5 separate regions of the Homo sapiens genome follow, and all the other regions are linked to region 4. Evidence: promoter capture Hi-C in 16 types of primary human blood cells and fetal thymus (Javierre and others, 2016). All regions are on one chromosome and are shown on one strand. The core of a region is centred on a gene start or on the middle of the fragment in contact, and the rest is flanking DNA. Distances in the headings are between cores, read along the strand shown. Region 1 has its middle 58 kb from the start of PLSCR5. Region 2 has its middle 41 kb from the start of PLSCR5. Region 3 overlaps PLSCR1 (phospholipid scramblase 1). Region 4 holds the start of PLSCR4 (phospholipid scramblase 4). Region 5 has its middle 19 kb from the start of PLSCR5.

Region 1 (4,053 bases), core at 812-3,311, 410 kb after region 4:
TCACAAATTAATCTCATCATTTACCTCCAGGTACTAAAAAAAAAAACACCAAAAAACAAAAAAACAAACAACCAACAACAACCAGAAAAAAAAAAACCAACCCAAAGCTAGCAGAAGAAAAGAAATAACAAAATCAATCAGAGCAGAACTAAATGAAATTGAGAACCTAAGAATACAAAGAATCAACAAAATGAAAAGTTGTCCCTTGAAAAGATGAGCAAAATTGATAGACTGCTGGCTACAGTAAACAAGAAAAAAGAAAGAAGATACAAAAAAAAGAAAGAAGACACAAAAAAAAGAGATACTACTATGAACAACCAAATGCCCCTAATCTAGAAAATCTATAAGAAATGGATTAATTCCTAGAAACATACAACCCCCCACATTTGAACTAGAAACAATTTAAATCTTGAAGAGTAATAGCAACTAGTGAGATTACATCACAGAGATAAAATATATCTCCCAAAACAACAACAAAAATATCCCAGGACCAGATGGATTCTACCAAATCTGCAAAGAAGAACTGGTACCATTCCTCCCACAACTTTTCTAAAAAAATCCAGGTGAAGGGAATCCTCCCTAATTATTTCTACAAAGCCAGTCACCCCAATACCAAAGCCAGGCATTGACATAACAAAAAAAAAAAAAAAAGAGAGAGAGAGAAAAACAACTATAAACCAATACCTCTGATAAACTAAGCTGCAAAAATCCTCAACAAAATACTAGAAAACCAAATCCAATACTACATTAAAGGATAATTCACCTAAATCAAGTGGGCTTCATTCTAGGGATGCAAAGATGGTTCAACATATATAAATCAATCCATGTAATTCCACATAAATACAATTAAAAACAAAAACCATATGATCATCTTAATTAATGAAGAAAAAACATTTGATAAAATTTAGTATCCTGTCATGATAAAAACATTCAACAAACTAGGTATAAAAGGAAAATATCTCAAAATAATAAGAGCCGTCTGTGACAAACCCACAGCAAACATCATACTGAATGGGCAAAAGCTGGGTGCATTCCCCTTAAAAACTGGATCAAGACAAAGAAATGGAAGAAACTTCCAGGCTGGCAGATCAGAACTGATATTATTAAGATCACCATACTAGCACAAACAATCTACAGTTTCAATGTAATTCCTATCAAAATACCAACATTATTTTTCACAGAATTTGACAAATAATCCTAAAATTCACATGGAACCAAAAAAGAGCCCAAATAGCCAAAGCATTCCTAAGCAGAAAGAACAATGGTGGAGGCATCACATTATCTGACCTCAAAGTATACTACCAGGTAATAGTAACCCAAATAGCATAGTACTGTATAAAAATAGACACATAGATCAATGGAACAGAACCCAGAAGTAAAGGCATACACCTACCACCAACTAAAATTTGACAACATTGACAAAAATACTGGGAAAAGGACAGCCTTTTCAATAAATGTTGCTGGGAAAATTGAATTGCCATATGCAGAAGAGTGAAACTGGATCCCTATCTCACCCTATGTACAAAAATTAACTCCAGAAGGATTACAGACTTAAATGTAAGACATGAAACTATAAAAATACAGGAAGAAAACATCAGAAAACTTTCCTGGACATTTGCCTAGGCAAAGAATTTATGATAAAGACTCCAAAAGCAAATGCAGCAAAAACGAAAATAGAAAAATGGCATTTGATTAAACTGAAAAGCTTCTGCACAGCAAAAGAAATAATTAACAAGTGAATAGACAACATGCAGAATGGAAGAAAATATTTAAATACTATGCATCTGACAAAGGATTAATATCCAGAATCTATAAGGAGCTCAAATAACTCAACATGAAAAAACAACCCAAAAGAAATTATTATATCAAAAATATAATTCTACCTGCATGTTTATCACATCACTGTTCACAACAGCAACAATATGAAATCAACTTAAATCTTCATCAATAGATACCTGGAAAAAGCAAATTTGGCATATATATATATACAATTGAATGCTACTCAGCCATAAAAATTAATGAAATCCTGTGTTTTGCAACAACATGGATGAAACTGGAGGCCATTATCTTAAGTGAAACGGCTCAGAAACAGAAAGTCAAATAGCACATGTTGCCACTTATAAGTAAGAGGTAAATAAGGTACACGAACGGAAATAGAGTGTGGAACAACAGACACTGGAGATTTGGAAGGATGAGAGGAGATCAGGAGGGGGTGAGAAATAGTATGTACCATGCACATTATTCAGATGATGACTACCCTAAAATCTCAGACTTTACCATTATGCAATATATCCATGTAACAAAACTGCACTTGTACCCCTTAAATCTACACAAATTTTTAAAAAAGAAAAAAAGTAAAAAAAAAGTCTTACTTTTAGTTTTCAAAACCTGAAGGCCTTATGAACATACTGCAAAACTTAAGCTTCATAACCTTTTTGGTAAGTTTGCTTCAGGTGATCCTGTTTGTTTCATGGGTGAGGAAACTTAAGACAGTGCAAATGATGAAATCAATATTCAAATATAGGTCTTTCTGATTGCAAAATCAATGTTTCCAACAACTCTGTTATACCTTGTCAAGGCAGTTCATTAGCAAAATCAGAAATCATGTAACAAGCTTAGGCTTGGCACTGGTTAATCACGCCTTATTTATTCCTATGTTCACCTTAACACAATTCAAACAACTGAAATATGTGTGTTAAACTCAATGGCTTTTTAAAAATATATGCTATAAGATACAACAAAGGTCACCAAAGAGTTAATGAGAAGCAGAAAAAATGGAGCTTAGAGTGAAGGGATCCGTGAAGCAAGGGGTTGTGGATTCAAGGAGGGTCTAGGGAAAGGAATTCTGCTGGATGAACATGGCCTAGGGCAGCAGAAATTCTTCAAATTCACAGAAACCAAGAAACACCTTCCTGCGTTTTTTAACAACACTGGTAAGTGGATCAAACAAAAATAGCTAGGAAATTTTGCTATCCATCTTTTTTTGAGAAACTCGTGATGAACAGGAAGACAGGTCATGAGCCTGTGTTATTATACTCCCCGTTATTAATTCGCCCTGAAAAGACTAAATAGTAATTACCCCCACACATTTATATGTATACTTAGTGATATACTCCATTTGCAAAAAGGAACTTCAAGAAATTCCCGTATACATGAAAATACAATGTACTTTTCACTTCTTTCATGTAGTCCCTAATTTTCCTTACCTGTCTGCCCATGGCTGAAATTTCTTTAACTGGTGTCAAGTGTTTTATTCAACTAAGAGACATGTCTTAAAATGTAAATGCTAGAATGCTAGCTCTTAAAAATATTTTAAGTGAAACTCATTTACCCTAATCAAAAGTAATCATTCCTTTCTAGATTAAATTGATCCAGAAAGCTCCTGCAAGAAAAAGGACCAAAGTTGGCTGATCCTGAAGCTTGAGACAAGATAGGGCCTCAAAAGATGAGTGTAATGTAAACATATCTTGCATTCCACAACTCACAACTGTAGTTGGAGTTTTCATGTTAACTTACACATGTGTGTATACAAATAATCTGTACAGAAAGATATTATTGACAAGCTTGAAAATAGATGTGCATTGTTAGGTTGAAATGCTTTTGAGTCTCACTCATGAATATAGCTAGTCTGCTTCAAGTTTACTTATGGAGTTCTTCCATTCTGCCCACCCGCTACCGTTTTTAAAGCAGTCAACCGTGTTTAGAGGAACATTTATTCCCAAAGGATATATTTGAAAAATAACAATCTTTGGATTCAGGATAACTAACAAATTCAATATAGAATAAATAAATAATGAACCCACACTTAGACGAGTGCTAGTAAATTTACAGAATGTCAAGGAAATAAGATTATCAAAAATACCAGACAAAAAAAGAAAAATCACCTTCCCCAAATCAGTTGCAATGAAGAATGATTTACCAATAACAACACTGGAAGCTAGAAGACAGAGGAATAATATCTTCAAGAAGATGAGAGAAAATAACTTTAAGCCTAGATTTCCAGCAAAAGTATCTTTCAAGAATATGAACAAAATCAAGATATTTTTAGAAAAA
Region 2 (3,797 bases), core at 1,121-3,620, 400 kb after region 4:
CCCTTGCAGTTCTGGTGGTGTTGATTCCATTCCAACTCTGGAGGTAGGCAGTGATTTACGCCTGGCCAATGGAAAGACTGTGTCTTTTTAGGGAAAGTTATGTGACTCAATTTCAACCAAAGCCAGCTTGGAGTAGGCTTTAAGTAGATATTATATTGTAGCAGCATAACGGATTATAACTGAAGACAGAGAGACATTGTTTGTAATTCCATCTCAGCCACTAATTAGTACAAATTACTTAAGGTCTTTGAGCCACAGTCTTCATCTGACAAATTGGGATACAAAATATTTGTTTTATTTGGTTGTTACGGGGATTAAGTCAGATACTGTATGCAAAGCATTTACGAGTACTCCCGACACTGTGTTCAATATATAGCAGAGTTTAAACGTCATTATGACATTAGCAACCATTTGTTTTTTTTTTTAAGGCAGACATTGAAAGTGAAATTCGAACGAGATTGAAAATGTCCTACATCCTAAATCTCAGGTACTCTTCTCTGAAATATTATACAAAAGCATTTTAATATCAGTCAAAGGAGCATCATTTTAAACAACAATTTTGTAGGGTTTATTATTGTTTTACCAAATTAATAAGCTAAAACAGCTTGAATTTTCTAGTGTTTTTGAAATTATTTTTCTCCTATGTAAAAGTTAATGTAATTTTAGTGAAAACATAAACCTAAAGGGATAAGCCTCTTAAAATATAATAATGCATTGTTAGATTTTTGTGGACTTGTCATAATTCTGGGTGTTCTTTCCTGCATACTTATTAAGAAATCTGGGAAGTATAAATAATATTGACGTATTGATGCCATCTGATCATTAACTGATTGGAATGAATGATAAATAGGAGTTTTATTAGCATGTGATATTGAATTTGTTTTGAAATTTAGTCTCTTCTAATGATATGCTAAGTTCAAATCCTTAATAACCTGGTTGTTGGCATTCTTAGCCAGGCATAGTGGCTCATGCCTGTAATCCTAGCACTTTGGGAGGCCTAGGTGGGAAGACCACTCGAGGTCAGGAGTTTGAGACTAGCCTGGCTGACATGGCGAAACTCCATATCTACCAAAAATACACAAATTAGCCAGGTGTGGTGGTGGGCACCTGTAATTCCAGCTACTCAGGAGGCTGAGGCAGGAGAATTGAATGAACCCGGAAGGCGGAGGTTGCAGTGAGCCAAGATGACATCGCTGCACTCTAGCCTGGGCAACAGAGTAAGACTCTGTCTCAAAAAACAAAACAAAACAAAATAATAAAAAATTTTTAAAAAGTTAAAAAAAGTGACTCTTCTTAGTTTTCCATGTGACCTTCAATTTAGTCTTTATTTAACCTTGGGAAATGAATGCTAGTGTATAATTAGTAAAATTAGAAATTAAGATTTGTATTTAGGATCTAAACTAGAAATACATTGCTAGCCATTAATATACATGTCAGTGTTACTGAAAACAGTTTTATATAACCACCCACCCACCCAACTTTGCTCCTTTTGTAAAAGTGACCCGTAAATTCATGGTTCAGGCACCATACGCAACTGTTGCTGAGTATCTGAGTCAAGTAAAAAACATTTATCTTTTTGATTACATGCCTTCTGTTATATGTAAATTTTTACAAGGTTTCATTTTTTTTTTGGCAAGTCATAATTTGTTTTATATAATCTAAGTTTCAATGAAATCTCCATCCCTCAATGATCTTAACAAATTTCCATTTTTAAAGGTTACCTCTAGATTTTTAAAATCTGTGTTTTAAATTACAACGGTAACAGACAAAATATTTAATGACTGTGTTTACACTTTTACTTCTGTCCTCTGATCTACTTATGATACTGAAAGATTATGCAGAATGTTTGATATTATCTACATTCCATGTTGACAAAATACAAGGGTGCAACAGAGTCGATTACTGGGAAGAAATTTTTAAAAATTATTTAATAAGTTAGCTGGAATAAGATAAGCTTTCTTATTATGATAGAATTTTTTCAAATTTTTAAAACATGATTTTAAAAATGAACTGCTTGTAATGTACCAGTTATATTCAACTCAGACACAAACAACCGAACATGTACAGATAGCTCAGTGCTCTTGACACCAACAAAAACATTGCCTAATGCAAGAAAGAAAGACAGGTCCTTCTAATTGTATAACAGTGGAAGGATACTTGCATAATTACAGGGCTACAGTAACAGCTGTGTACAACGTCCACTATCCTGCACTGCAGGCGGTAATTTACCCATGTACTTCCCATTCATATGAATGGAAAACAGTCGGGGGTGCCTCTTTTGAATCCTATGTGTATAGCAGACATTTTAAGCAACTATCATTGAAAATTTCTTGTTTTAATATTGCATAAAAATATGGCTTTTTAAAAATACTGGACTTTCCTACCCAACAGAGCTTTTAAGTGCTATGCTTAAAGTATTTGTCACTTTGCTTTTCATCTGAAATTATTACTTTATTATTTTCATATTCTAAGGCACATGTGAAGGGTAACAGCAACAAAATCTTCTTGGTTGAGATGTAGGTCTAATGAAAATATTTGATTAAACCTTGTCTTCCCGTTAACATTTCTAAATGTAGTAAGTACAGTAGCATTAAAAAAGCTAGATGTCAAATACACTTTTAGATCAGTTGCATATTGTAAAATTGACTTCAGTAGTCATTTTACTTGAAAATATTTTCAAAATGTTTTTAGTATCTATTTACTTACATAGAAGTTTCTGCCTTTCTAATCTCAACCTGAGAAGAGATTTGAGGACTAGGAAATAAACAAAATGGCTTCTGCACAACTGAAGCTTCTGGCTTAAATCTTCACAGCAAAAAACCATACATTGTCTTCAGGAGAGATCCTTAGCTTTTGGTCAGAAGCCACTTTCTCTTACTTAGCACACAATTATTATTAACAAATAAACAAAGTAAGAGATTTATTTCTTAACATGGAGGCAATTAGAAACAGCAAAGGAGTGAAGACTGGATAGGAAAAAAGGTTTATTTTTGTCTCCCACCAACTCAACTCACATTTCAACTGCCTTCTACAGGTGACCCAAGTCTCCAGCACTGGGATCAATCACCTCATCATCTGGTATCCAGAACACTTATAAAAAACAAATTTACATCATGTTCAGTTTTGGTGCTGGGATATTTAAAAATTGCTATGAATGTTGGTCAAGTGTAGGAGCAAAGGCTTGGAACTCCTCACCTGTGCTGGTTACTACCTCATTAAGTTGCTGGATTCTGGGGGAATTCCAGAGCATCCCAGCACCTTGGCTGCTGGGGTAACAGGGAAGCACTCAGAGAACAAAGGCAGTAGTTATTTGCCAGCAATATGGAAATACGTGGTATTTCAACAACCAATAAGTAAGTATGGGTGAAGATCTATTTCTTAATCATTTTAACATCCCCAACTGACAGAAGACCAGACAAGTTGTTGGAAACTGAATAAGTAGTCTTTGGAACATTAGATTACAAAGAGCATTTACCAAGAATCTGTTCTTGCAGTGAAACAGAGATGCTAAAGAAATGAAGAAAGCTGATAAAAGTAAAATTCATTATGTTAAGAGATGTGGAGTCCTGTAATGAATTAAATTAAAAAGGGGCATTTTGGTTTCAGATTTTATTTTTTTTCTCTTTGGAAAAAGCTCATGTTTTCTTTTAGTCAACCTTTCATTTACCTCTCGTCTACTTGCCAGTTGGTGTCCTATTTGGTGAAAGAGATACATGAAAGTTTGTGGAAGAAACTAAGATTTGAGTGAGAAAACACTTCCAATTATGACAAAGTCCATAGAATACCAAAGATTGTTT
Region 3 (3,794 bases), core at 669-3,168, 270 kb after region 4:
AAAGCCAGAAAGGAGCAATAACTGTCCCATTTGTACATAGTCCTCAGTAACTGGGGTCATAGATGTCAGAAGCCTGGCTAAAATAATGAGTGATTAAAATAAATATATGGAGGAAAAGTCACTCTATAATGCCTATGTGGAAAGACTCTGAGTCGGATAAAGACGGCCTTCACAAGTCTTACCACCATGAACTCCTTTAAGTGTCCTTGGTGGGACACAGACAGACCCTGTACTCTGCATTTATAGGAACAACGTCTGATTTCAACATCTGAAATAGTCAAATGTTTGATGAGAAAAAAGTTAAGCTGATTTTGAGAGGACATTCATTATCTAATTAATTGTTACATTAAGTAGCTTAATCTCAAAAATCTCCAGCTTATTTGTAAAACAACATTGGTTTACATAACCTTTAAGTTTCTTTTCATTTACTTTAAAAATGTAAACAAATTGTTTATATTTTTATTGTCTTCTGTGTTTTGAATTGAGAAAAAAAAGTAAGTGCCTAGTTTATGCTCAGATTCTAAAAACCTGAGTAATCTTCATCTTTTTTATACCACTCATGAAAAAATAACATAGACTTTCAATTTTGGAGAAAAAGAAACAAAAAAAAAACTGGAGACATTTCTTTTTTGAAAAATAAGCATAATTAAAAACTGTTAGATTTGGAACTTTCTATTTCATAATTAACACATATTTAACAAATATTTATAAAGCCTATAAATCTACAAAAAAAGATAAATAGTGTGCTGTGTAATGTTTGGTTATATGTCTGTTTGGATTTTATAGCCTTACTAATATATACTATAAAACATTAAAAAATTCAGAATACAAAGCTGTCTTCCAGAGAAAGCTTTGTTTAGATACACTAAAAAAAAAATCAAGTAACTTATAAATAATAATGTGCTTTACAAATAACTTCAATGTAATAGATGACAATTGTATATTTTAGCCAAATCCATTATTCTGCTTATACAATTCATCTTCTAATTTTTACCAGTGGAAAGAAACTTTGGAGACAGGTGAAAATGAATTTAGCAGACATATTCCTAAAAACTGGAGAGTTTTATTTTTTATTAAACCTTTTTTATCTAGAAGGAAAACACTATGGTTCATAAATCTATCCAGGGTCTTCTTCCCCTGGCAGCCATTATAAAACATTAATTGGCTTCCTAGGTTTATTTTTGCACCTAAGGAGCCCTGGACCCAAGGAAATGTCAGGCCATTCAGCAGGAGCAGGAGTGCTCTTCTATGAAGCCAAGCCTGCAGGCTAGTTGGTCAGCATCCTCCCACACTGCAGTGGCCTGCATCTGACCTCGTATACAAAGGTTTTATAGGGTTCATCTTAACTCCCAAGAGAAACTGTGGGCACAAATGATAATTTTCCCAAACTTCCTCATCCAAATAAAAAAGATAACTTACTTTGGAATGTGGCTCTGTGCCATTCTTAAGCTGATCACAATTACGGAGAAAATAGCTTAAGTGGTAGAAGTCAGAAAAAAAGTGATGTATGAAGAGAGGAGCAAAATAAGGGTTTTGATTATTTTCCTTCTAAGTTAGTGTCAATATCCCGAGGGCAGGTGCCCAACATAACAGCATTTTACCTTTTGATTCCTAAATTTTAGAAATGAATTGCTGATAACATTTATTATTGTAAATAACTGGTTTAACTGTCCTATATAAGTGAGAGTGTTATATTTGTGGAGGTCAATGTGCCTTTATCTGCATAAACTTCTACTCTTTATAGAAACAGGATTAAAACAATGAATACATACCTTCCAGAAGTTCAATTTGCTGATGAATCAGTATCTGATCTATCTATAGCAGGAAAAAAAATAAGTGGTATGTATATGTCAAATGAAGGTTTTTATAAGCTAACCAAATTAAAATTCATGTATTTATATTTTTAAAGTACATGTAACCAATTATCAATATTTAACAGCTTATATTACTTTTTAGTGTAAAACTGAAGTTAATATTTTTAATTAATAAAATATTTATTGTGTTCATTATTAATGTGGAAAAATTTAGGTCAAATAAAATTGATTTATACTGGAGTACCTTTAAAAATTAGACAATTGAGGTGGCTCATGCCTGTAATCCCAGCACTTTGGGAGGCCAAAGTGGGCAGATCACGAGGTCAGGAGATCGAGACCATCCTGGCTGACATGGTGAAACCCTGTCTCTACTAAAAATACAAAAAATGAGCTGGGTGTGGTGGCAGGTGCCTGTAGTCCCAGCTACTTGGGAGGCTCAGGCAGGAGAATCGCCTGAACCCAGGCGGCAGATGTTGCAGTGAGCCGAGATCGCGCTACTGCACTCCAGCCTGGGCAACAAGCGTGAGACTCCATCTCAAAAAAAAAAAAAAAAAAAAAGAAAGAAAAAAAAAAGAAAAGAAAATTGATACAAAATGGCCAGTAAGTTTATGAAAAAATGCTCAACATCACTAATCACCAGGGAAATGAAATCCAAACCACAATGAGATATTATCTTTGTACAGTTAAGAATTTTTATCAAAAAGACAAAAAATAACAAATAATGGTAAAAATGTGGAGAAGGGGAAATCTGTTGGTGGGAAAGTAAATTAGAGCAGCCATTATGGAGAACAGTGTAGCGGTTCCTCAAAAATTAAAATTACAGCCACCATATGATTCAGCAATCCCACTACTGTTTTTTTTGAAACAGTATTTTTTCAAAATTTTCAAAACAAAAATTTTAAAGGAAAGGAAATCAATATGTCAGAGGTATCTGCAATCTCATGCTTATTGCAGCACTAACAGTCAATATATAGAATCAACCTAAGTATTCATCAATAGATAAATGAATAAAGAAAAATTCATTCTTAATACACACAATGGAATAAAAATCAGCCATAAAAATGAATGAAATCCTGTCATTGGCAGCAACATGGATGAGCCTAAGGGACATTATGTTAAGTGAAATAAGCCAGGCACAGAAAGAAAAATACTGAATGTTCTCACTCATACATGGAAGCTTAAAAAAATTGATTTCTTAGAAGTAGAGAGTAGAGGCCAGGCGCAGTGGTTCACGACTGTAATCCCAGCATTTTGGGAGGCCAAGGCAGGCGGATCACAAGTTCAGGAGTTCAAGACCAGCCTGGCCAGTATGGTGAAACCGTCTCTACTAAAAATACAAAAATGAGCTGGGTGTGGTGGCAGGAGCCTGTAGCCCAGCTACTTGGGAGGCTGAGGCAAGAGAATAGCTTGAACCCGGGAGGCGGAGGTTGCAGTGAGCCGAGATCGTGCCATTGCACTCCAGCCTGGGTGACAGGATGAGACTCCATCTAAAAAAAAAAGTAGATACTAGAATAGTGGTTACTAGAAACTGTGAAGGGTAGGGAGGAGAGGTATAAAGAGAAGTTGGTTAATGAATACAAAATTACAGCTAGATAGGAGGAATAAATTCTAGTGTTCTATAGCTATGTAGGCTGACTATAATTAACAATAATTTATTGTATATTTTCAAATAGCTAGAAGAGAGGATTTGGAATGTTCTCAACACTAAGAAATGATAAATATTAAAAGTGACAGATATGCTAATTATCCTTATTTTTCATTACACGTAGTACATGTGCATTAAAATGCCAGACTGTACTCCATAAATATGCACAATTATTATGTGTCAAAAACAATTCAAAAGGTAGAAAACAATCTTCCTTCTAGAATAGGCTGAAGAAATATTGGTAACTTTTTTAGCCATCAAAGAGATTTTTTTTTACAAGTTTCAGATTTGTATTAAGCATACTTAATATCAACCTTTGTCATATGTGATAACAT
Region 4 (4,144 bases), core at 1,148-3,647:
ACATCTTTGACAGAGATTTTTATTTGTACACTTGGGAGCATGTTTTGCTGGATAAATTCCAGTTAAGTAAATGAACATTTGTAAATCTGAACAGCTTTAACCCTAAAACAGCTTCACCAATTCACATTTCCACTAAAAGTTTGTAAAATTATATTTTCCTCACTGCATTTTCAACAACACCTAAAGTTATCAGACTTTCAAAATTTGTAAAATTAATGCAAAAATTGATGTCTTACTTCATATATGTTTTGGATAATTAGTGTGGCTAACAGTATTCACTCTGCTTATTATTTGCATTTCTTTTGCTTTGAGTTGACTCTTTTTATCCTTAACTGGGTCATTGATTTTGAAGGTCATTAATAAGATTTCTAGGTATATTAGCAAAATTATCTTTTTTTTTCTATTAACAATGTCCGCAGTTTGTATCTTTTTTGGGGGATGCAAATGTTAATAAAAATCATGTCCCTAAATGGGTCTAGGTTTTTGTATTATGCTTAGAAATGCTTTTCCCACATGCAATGTGCACAAATATCTATTCAGGCTTTCTTTTTCCCTTTTTAGGCTGCATATGTTTAGATTTAAACTAGTAAGCCATCTAGACTACATTTGTCTATTAACAGTGAGGAAAAGTTCCAGTTTTATTATTAGGTTTCCCAAACAAATTCCTGCTTGTCCAAGTACATTCAATTAAATGTTATTTCTTCTTCCCACCCAGTGATTTAAAATGTATGCTTATCAAATGCCAGCTTTCCTTTTATTCTTCCATGTCTCTTCAGTTTCATTTACACATCTGGTAGTAGGTCTACTGCACTGTCTTTTAATCACCACAGTTTTGTAACACCTTTTATTATATGAAGAAGTCTCCACTATATATATGTGTGTATGTATAATATTAAATGTTAAAATCATATATAATATATAAAATAAGACATAATTATATATTTTGTATTTTATTATTTGTAATATATTATACATAACGTTAATATGTTTGTTCTTCCACATGAGCTAAACAGTACAGTTAAAAACAGTAACAAAAATATTCAGTTAGGATTCTACTTATACGTTGTTTTAGAGAAATGATATCTTTACCTAGAAGAATGTTATGTATTTTATTGGATTCTCATACATACCTTTTTATATCTTCTTAAAAATAATTTCTCAATTGTGTGTTATTTCATGCCAAACTGAATTTTACTTTATTTTACTGTATTATCTAGTTTATGTATAAACATCAACTGACTTCTATAAATTAAGTATGATGCAATTGGAAACTTTGATAAATTCACTTATGCTTCCCATCAAATTTCAGTGTTTCCTATGGACATTAAGGTATACACTCACATCATGCATAAAGTGATAATATGTTCCCCTACCTGTTGTCACTCGCCCATAGAATTCACAACCATGTCACAGAGTGTAATGATTAGCATTCTTGTCTTTTTCAAATTTAATGGAAATGCTGCTAGTATTTCACAGCTATCCATGAGAGCAGATAGACAGATGGAGGTTGTGTTCTATTACTATTACAGGAGAATGCAATTTAAATTAGGCAATCTATTCCCCTTTAAGCAGTATCAAGTTTGGTGCATTATATCTTCACAAGTACTTATTTTGGTGGCTCCATTCTAAATGCAGTATAAAATTAAAAACTAAATTGTAGATCCTAAGAGAAGATAAGGCCACAAAATAAAATCCTAAGTCTTTAAATATGAACGTTTTTAAAAACAAATCAAGCACAGCCCCAAATCGCCCCAGTTTGCCAGAATTGGAAATAAGAGAGAGGGATTCTCTCCTGTCACCGCCTCCACTCGCTGAGCAATTAAAAAGTTACTATAAATAGCGTTTTTACCTGCGAGTGGCCTGGCCTGAGTCCGTGAGAGCCGCGCCGTAGAAACGCCAGAGACCCATGAGAAACCCAATCAAGCGAGACCTGTCACGCAGAGCGAAACGAAAGGGCCGCCCCCGTGAAGTGCAGCCAGGACCCCCATCCCTGGGCAGGAAACTGCTCGCTCCCAAACCCTCTGCGTCTGCAGTGCAGACGCGCGCCCGACACCACGGAACTTCTGCAACCACCTGAGGATGCGACGCGAGCGCAGTGTCCGGGAACTGCTAGCGCAGGACGCCGCGCAACCTCCGCGCCTGCCCGCAGGCACCGCGGCCTCGGGCCTCCCCTGACGACGCCCTCGGCCCCGCAGCCCGGGCGCCCGCGCCACCCTGTCCTGCTCTGCGCCCGCCTGTCCAGCCCCACTCACCGCCTGCCCCGCAGAATGCTGGGCACCGGGGACGCCAGACGCCGGGTCTAGTTGTACTGGCAGAGGAAAGGGAAAGGAAAGGAGGCAGGGAAGGGAGACGGAGAGGATTTTTCAAGTTATAAACAAAGTAAGCGCGCGGAAGGGAGGGCTAGGCGCGGGTTCTGGGGGCGGGTCCGGCACGCCTGGACCCTCCTTCCCCGCGCGCGGCTTCCCCGTCTCGGACCCCGCCCCGCGCTGGGAGAGCCGCCAGCCCGGGGGAGCGTCTTCCTGGAAGAGGTGGGGCACCCTGAAGTCCGCTGAAACCTAAAAGCCGAGGGGGAGGAAGAAATGAAGAAAATAAGTTGTCACTACTCTAATAAGAGGTGAAAGAAAAGATAAAAGCCAGCCCACGGTCACTTCCAATCAGAGGGGCAGGTTGCAGGGCCTGGGAAAGGGAGCTTTGTTCATAGATTACTGCGCCTAGAGAGAAAATGAAGAAACCCCTCTTTCTCAAGAGCCTTTTTTATTTTTTTATTTTTATTTTTGATACGGAGTCTCACTCTGTCGCCCAGGCTGGAGTGCAGTGGCGCGATCTCGGCTCACTGCAAGCTCCGCCTCCCAGGTTCAGGCCATTCTCCTGCCTCAGCCTCCCTAGCAGCTGGGACTACAGGCGCCCGCCACCACGCCCGGCTAATTTTTTGTATTTTTTACTAGAGACGGGGTTTCACCGTGTTAGCCAGGATGGTTTCGATCTCCTGACCTCGTGATCCGCCCGCCTCGGCCTCCAAAAGTGCTGGGATTACAGGCGTGAGCCACTGCACCCGGCCTCAAGAGCCTTTTTGATTTGCATTTGCGCCCACCCCCAGGTCCTTGGCTTGGTGATTTAGCCTTGGCAATGCCGTGCTGGCTGGAAACACTTGGGCATAGGGCCCAGAAATTCTGTTTTCTTTTCCACAGAATTGGGGGAGGCCAATTTGATCTTGGAGGGAAGGCGGGAGAGACGCCAATAAAGGGGAAAGGGAGCAGGTTGCCCATGTTTTCTGACATTGGGAGAAAAATGCCATTTGCTTATTACTGTTAGGCACAAATATTTCTTTCAGACCAATGGGATTCAGTTCTGTGGTGGTGCTTGGAGAGAAGCACAATACACTGACAGGAAGTGGGAGAACTGAAGGTCCTCTGACCTTATAAAGAATCAGAACTGGACAGAAGTAAGCTTGATTAAGCTCTGAGGAGTACTTGGCAGAACCCCATTGTGGGAGAAGGTTGGAAAGGGGAAGGGATGTGGGAGTGGAGTTCTAGAATTTTATATTTTTCTTTGTATGTGTGTTATTTGTTAATATTCATGTGAGAATAGATTAAAAAATTCATACTGTTCTTCTCAGTAATAATTGCACAGAACATTTCTCAGATGCAGACATAGTGTTTTACTGAAAGCATAAAACAAAGAAACTGGTGGTGAAACTAAATTATAATAGCATATGTTACTGTTGGGAGCAAGCCCCCCAAAATCTGGCCATAAACTGGCCCCAAGACTGGCCATAAACAAAATCTCTGCAGCACTGTAACATGTTCATAATGGCCCTAATGCCCAAGCTGGAAGGTTGTGGGTTTACGGGAGTGAGGGTGAGGAACACCTGGCCCGCTCAGGGCGAAAACCGCTTAAAGGCATTGTTAAGCCACAAACAATGAGCATGAGCGGTCTGTGTCTTAAGGGCGTGTTCCTGCTGCAGTTAATCCGGCCCATCCCTTCGTTTCCCTTAAGGGATACTTTTAGTTAATTTAACATCTATAGAAACAATGCTAATGACTGGTTTGCTGTTAATACGTGGGTAAATCTCTGTTCGGGGGTGTCAGCTCTGAAGGCTATGACACCCCTGATTTCCCACTTGACACCTCTATATTTCTGTGTG
Region 5 (3,884 bases), core at 657-3,156, 370 kb after region 4:
TATTTATAATATTTAGAGAGTTGAATATTTTTAGAGTATTTTAAGATTATTTTCTGACATCTATCCCAAGAAAAATGAGTAAATTGTTAAAAAATACAATGGAACCAGAGTTTGGAGAATGGAATATAAAACTCATATTTTAAAACTTTTATATGGTTTGATATCATGTTTTGAGCATTAGGCACTTTAAACAAATTTAAAATCAAAATATTTCTTTTTTTTTTTGCAATTATCATTTATTAGTTGTGTAATCACAGATAGGCAACTTTAACTTTTTGAAAGCATATACTTTTAGGTTAATTAAATGAAAGAATGGACATGGAAGTAGTTTAAAAACAATATAGCATTAATAAATACAAAGTGGGAAAAACACAACTAGAGTGACACTTTGTTAAAAAAATCAAAATATTTCTTGTTCTGCAATCTGTAGTGGCATTTCTCACAGAAAAAGGGAGTGTCTAGGAATTTTTATTTCTCTCCTAATTGAAGATGAACATAAGCATATCTGCTAGATTTTCTACTGTACTTTTATTTATTTATTTATTTATTTATTTATTTATTTATTTATTTATTTTAAGACGGAGTCTCGCTCTGTCGCCCAGGCTGGAGTGCAGTGGCGCCATCTCGGCTCACTGCAAGCTCCACCTCCCGGGTTCACACCATTCTCCTGCCTCAGCCTCTGGAGTAGCTGGGACTACAGGCGCCCGCCCCCACGCCCGGCTAATTTTTTGTACTTTTTTTAGTAGATACGGGGTTTCACTGCGTTAACCAGGGTGGTCTTGATCTCCTTACCTCGTGATCCGACCGCCTCGGCCTCCCAAAGTGCTGAGATTATAGGCGTGAGCCACCGCGCCCGGCCTCTATACTTCTTTTTAGATTGTCCCCTTGCTTCCTTTTTCCTGTTAGGGAGATGCAGAGGCATATATCAGTGGAACTGAGATTCTGAATGTGGAGCATGAGCACAAGGAAGGGCTAGTCATGCAATGCCTGAGTGTGCATGAGGAAGGGACCTCCTACAGTCAGGGTACCAATAGAAACTCGATGACACCTTCAAAACGGAAGAAGATCCAGAATGCTCATTTGCAAAGGCATTATTTATAAATCTGTGAGTGTGGGACAAAAGACAAATACCCCTTAGTCTATTAGTCAGTCCTAAAGAGAAATATATGAATTAAAACAAGAATCCAGAAGAATAGAGTCACAGAGGTTGGCTGTCTTGAGAGGGATTGAGACAGGGAAATAGCTACTCTGACCTCACTGTCCTCCCACCTTCCCAATCTCCCGGCTCTTCACTGACTAAATGCCAACAAGAAGACAGAGGACATGAAAATTTTGTTTTGTAGGACAAAGAAGTCAACTTCCCTGGGCAGAGAGCAGGGTGGGGATGGGTGGAGACGGACAGAGAGTGGGTGTCTGGGGCTAAAATAAAGATCTGTCATGGAATCCCTACATTGAGACCCTTTTCTGGTTTTGTTAGAACTGAGATGTTACTTTTGTCTGTCATAAAAATCACTGGAATCAATGATTTTTGCCCTGTGTGCAATTGAGTGGCCTTCTCATAGATAATATGACGTTGTATACTGCACAACTTACAAAGCCATGCCTCATGTGTGAGCAAAAATTCAGAATTAGGAACATAGCATGACTCCATGAGTGATGTCTTTTGCTTAAAATGCCCCCTCTAACCAGTAAAATGGAGCTACTGTGATTTTAAAATTTATTACATCACCAGGGTCACACTGATAGAATTCAGAAGTGGGAAACCAGTCCCATCAAAGTGTAGCAGGTCCTAAAAGCCATTATTGGGAAATTCCTTCAAATTCATTCCATTTTCTACAGCCCTTGTTTAGAATATGTATACCCATGGTTTGGGAAACACAACAAAATAATTCTTATTAGAGAATAATGACTTTAAATAATATTTTTTTCTTAAAAAATAAGCCTAGGGTGTATCTCTACATCCCTTGTTTCATGTGAGAAAGGGAATACTTGAAGAAGGAAAACGGAAGGAAGAAAATTCACATACGCTTCACATATTTTGCATCAGATGCTACAATAAGGGATTGCGTGCACACACACACACACACACAGAGACACACACACAGATTTAATTACAGCGAATTGATATGGTGAGTAATTTTCTCTTAATTTCACAAATGCTGTGTATGTTTTCTACAAAATTTGGTTCCAGCCATGTTTGTTGATTGTTTTTCAGTTGAAGGTGATTATGAGCCATAAAATAACCCAAATTAGAAAAGGAAAGAAAGGTGATAAAGTAACAAACCAGATCAATGAATTTTAAAATGTGTCTTGAGAAAACCTCAGGTCCCAAGAAGAGGTCTCTTGGACAGCTGTGTGTATGAGGGTCAGTACAAGATTGGGGGCTTCGGTGAGGCTGAGCAGGTGGGATTCTGGTTTCCCATTTCCTCTTTTTTAATCAGGAAGTTTTGATTTTATCTCAAAATTTTCTTTAAAACAATTGGCCTAGAAAGTCTAAAAATTTTGTGATCAATTACTTCATGTTCACTCAAAATTCCTCTAATATACCAGTGGAATAAGGCTTTCAAATATTACACTTAAGTAGAAATAAAGTAATATTCAGGTTGCTATTCACAAAAAACTCAGTATTACCTATTTTGCTCCACAAACAAAGGTCCATTAAGTCATTGAAAGCCAGATAGTTTATTAAACAAATATGCGATCCCACATGAGCAGTTCCTTCAGAAAGTGAAAGTGAGAAAAGGAGTACCATGTGACCTCTCAGGCTAAAGATTATTTTCATGTTCTTGTTTAAAATCTGGCATTTATCTGTTTTAGGGAGTTCTCTTATTGTCTTCTTACTCTTATCAAGATAATATTCAATTAGTAAGCAAGCATAATTTGTCCATTTACTGTATAAATATTGCATTTTCATGTTGATACTGAATCTAGAAGCAATCTGTAATTTTTTCCAGGCAGGCGGAGGTATGAAACCTGCCTATCAAGTAACACAGAATGCCTTAAGTGGCTCTGCCACCAAGATATCTTGATAAAAGAGTGAGGGAATTATAGTCCCTCTGTTGTGCTATCACACACCAGGTCTTATTCTTTCTATTTTTTTTGTACACATATAGAGTGTACAAAAGAGTATAATTGGATTGTTTGTAACACAAAGGAGGTAATGGATATTGCATCGCATGCCTGTATCAAATATCTTATATAACTCATAAATATATAAGCCTACTATGTACCCACAAAAATTAAAAACAAAAATTTAAAAATAAAAGAGAAATAAGACATCAAAAAATTTTTAAAAAAAGAGTGAGAGGAAAATAATTCAAGATAGATTTATCTTTCATTTATAACTGAAATAGGATTTCCAAAGCAGGAGACCATAGGGAATCTCCCAGAAGCCCACCACACTCCTCCTCCTTATTGGCATGCTAGAGGAAAGCAAAGGGTCCGATGATCTTCCAGTTTAAATCAATGAAGAAAAACAAACTATATCTGAGAGTTTTCCATTTTAAAAATTATTATATATAGGAAAAAAGGAATACATAAATTTTCATCTAATTCATTTGGACTGTTTCAATTTATTTACATTTGGATATATTAGTGTACAAAAGAACTCAAGAAGAAAACCCATTGTTTAGTCAAGTAAAACAAACAAAACAATGGCAAGGAAGAAATGTGAAGATTATAGTAGGATCTGGCTAGGATTTGGTTGCAAGTATTTGTAGATAAGGAAATTGAAGCAAGGGCTTACACATCATCTCTATTTAATTTTTCCCTTATATTTTACCTTCTTTATAACCAAGAAGAATCTGAGAAATGTTACATTAGCTTTGGAAGTGGTTCCACAGAAGACTAATTAAAATAGAAGAAGTAGATAGTGCTACGGAGTT

Evidence for each region. The method cuts DNA at HindIII sites, captures the fragments that hold promoters and counts their contacts. A CHiCAGO score of 5 or more calls a contact.
Region 1: a fragment that was not itself captured here is called in contact with the fragment with the promoter of PLSCR4 in region 4 in 4 of 17 cell types (naive CD8 T cells, monocytes, activated CD4 T cells and 1 more); the score reaches 7.3 in naive CD8 T cells.
Region 2: a contact is called between a fragment that was not itself captured here and the fragment with the promoter of PLSCR4 in region 4, in 13 of 17 cell types (naive CD4 T cells, naive CD8 T cells, activated CD4 T cells and 10 more). The highest score is 10.0, in naive CD4 T cells.
Region 3: a fragment that was not itself captured here is called in contact with the fragment with the promoter of PLSCR4 in region 4 in 4 of 17 cell types (erythroblasts, naive B cells, naive CD8 T cells and 1 more); the score reaches 9.8 in erythroblasts.
Region 5: a fragment that was not itself captured here is called in contact with the fragment with the promoter of PLSCR4 in region 4 in 14 of 17 cell types (M2 macrophages, total B cells, naive CD8 T cells and 11 more); the score reaches 10.8 in M2 macrophages.

Annotation. Positions count from the first base shown.
Region 1 is chr3:146,661,761-146,665,813 of GRCh38, forward strand. No RefSeq gene overlaps it. Among named protein-coding and RNA genes, the nearest start is that of PLSCR5, 58 kb to the left of the region's middle. The HindIII fragment of the contact is 717 bases long and covers 1,704-2,420 here.
Region 2 is chr3:146,644,275-146,648,071 of GRCh38, forward strand. No RefSeq gene overlaps it. Among named protein-coding and RNA genes, the nearest start is that of PLSCR5, 41 kb to the left of the region's middle. The HindIII fragment of the contact is 837 bases long and covers 1,953-2,789 here.
Region 3 is chr3:146,523,833-146,527,626 of GRCh38, forward strand. It overlaps PLSCR1 (phospholipid scramblase 1), which reads right to left. Exons shown (of 9, transcript NM_021105.3): 5 at 1,773-1,815. Among named protein-coding and RNA genes, the nearest start is that of PLSCR1, 19 kb to the right of the region's middle. The HindIII fragment of the contact is 2,141 bases long and covers 849-2,989 here.
Region 4 is chr3:146,248,708-146,252,851 of GRCh38, forward strand. It overlaps PLSCR4 (phospholipid scramblase 4), which reads right to left and starts at 2,398. Exons shown (of 9, transcript NM_020353.3): 1 at 2,253-2,398. The HindIII fragment of the contact is 7,000 bases long and covers 1-3,445 here.
Region 5 is chr3:146,622,587-146,626,470 of GRCh38, forward strand. No RefSeq gene overlaps it. Among named protein-coding and RNA genes, the nearest start is that of PLSCR5, 19 kb to the left of the region's middle. The HindIII fragment of the contact is 4,517 bases long and covers 1-3,884 here.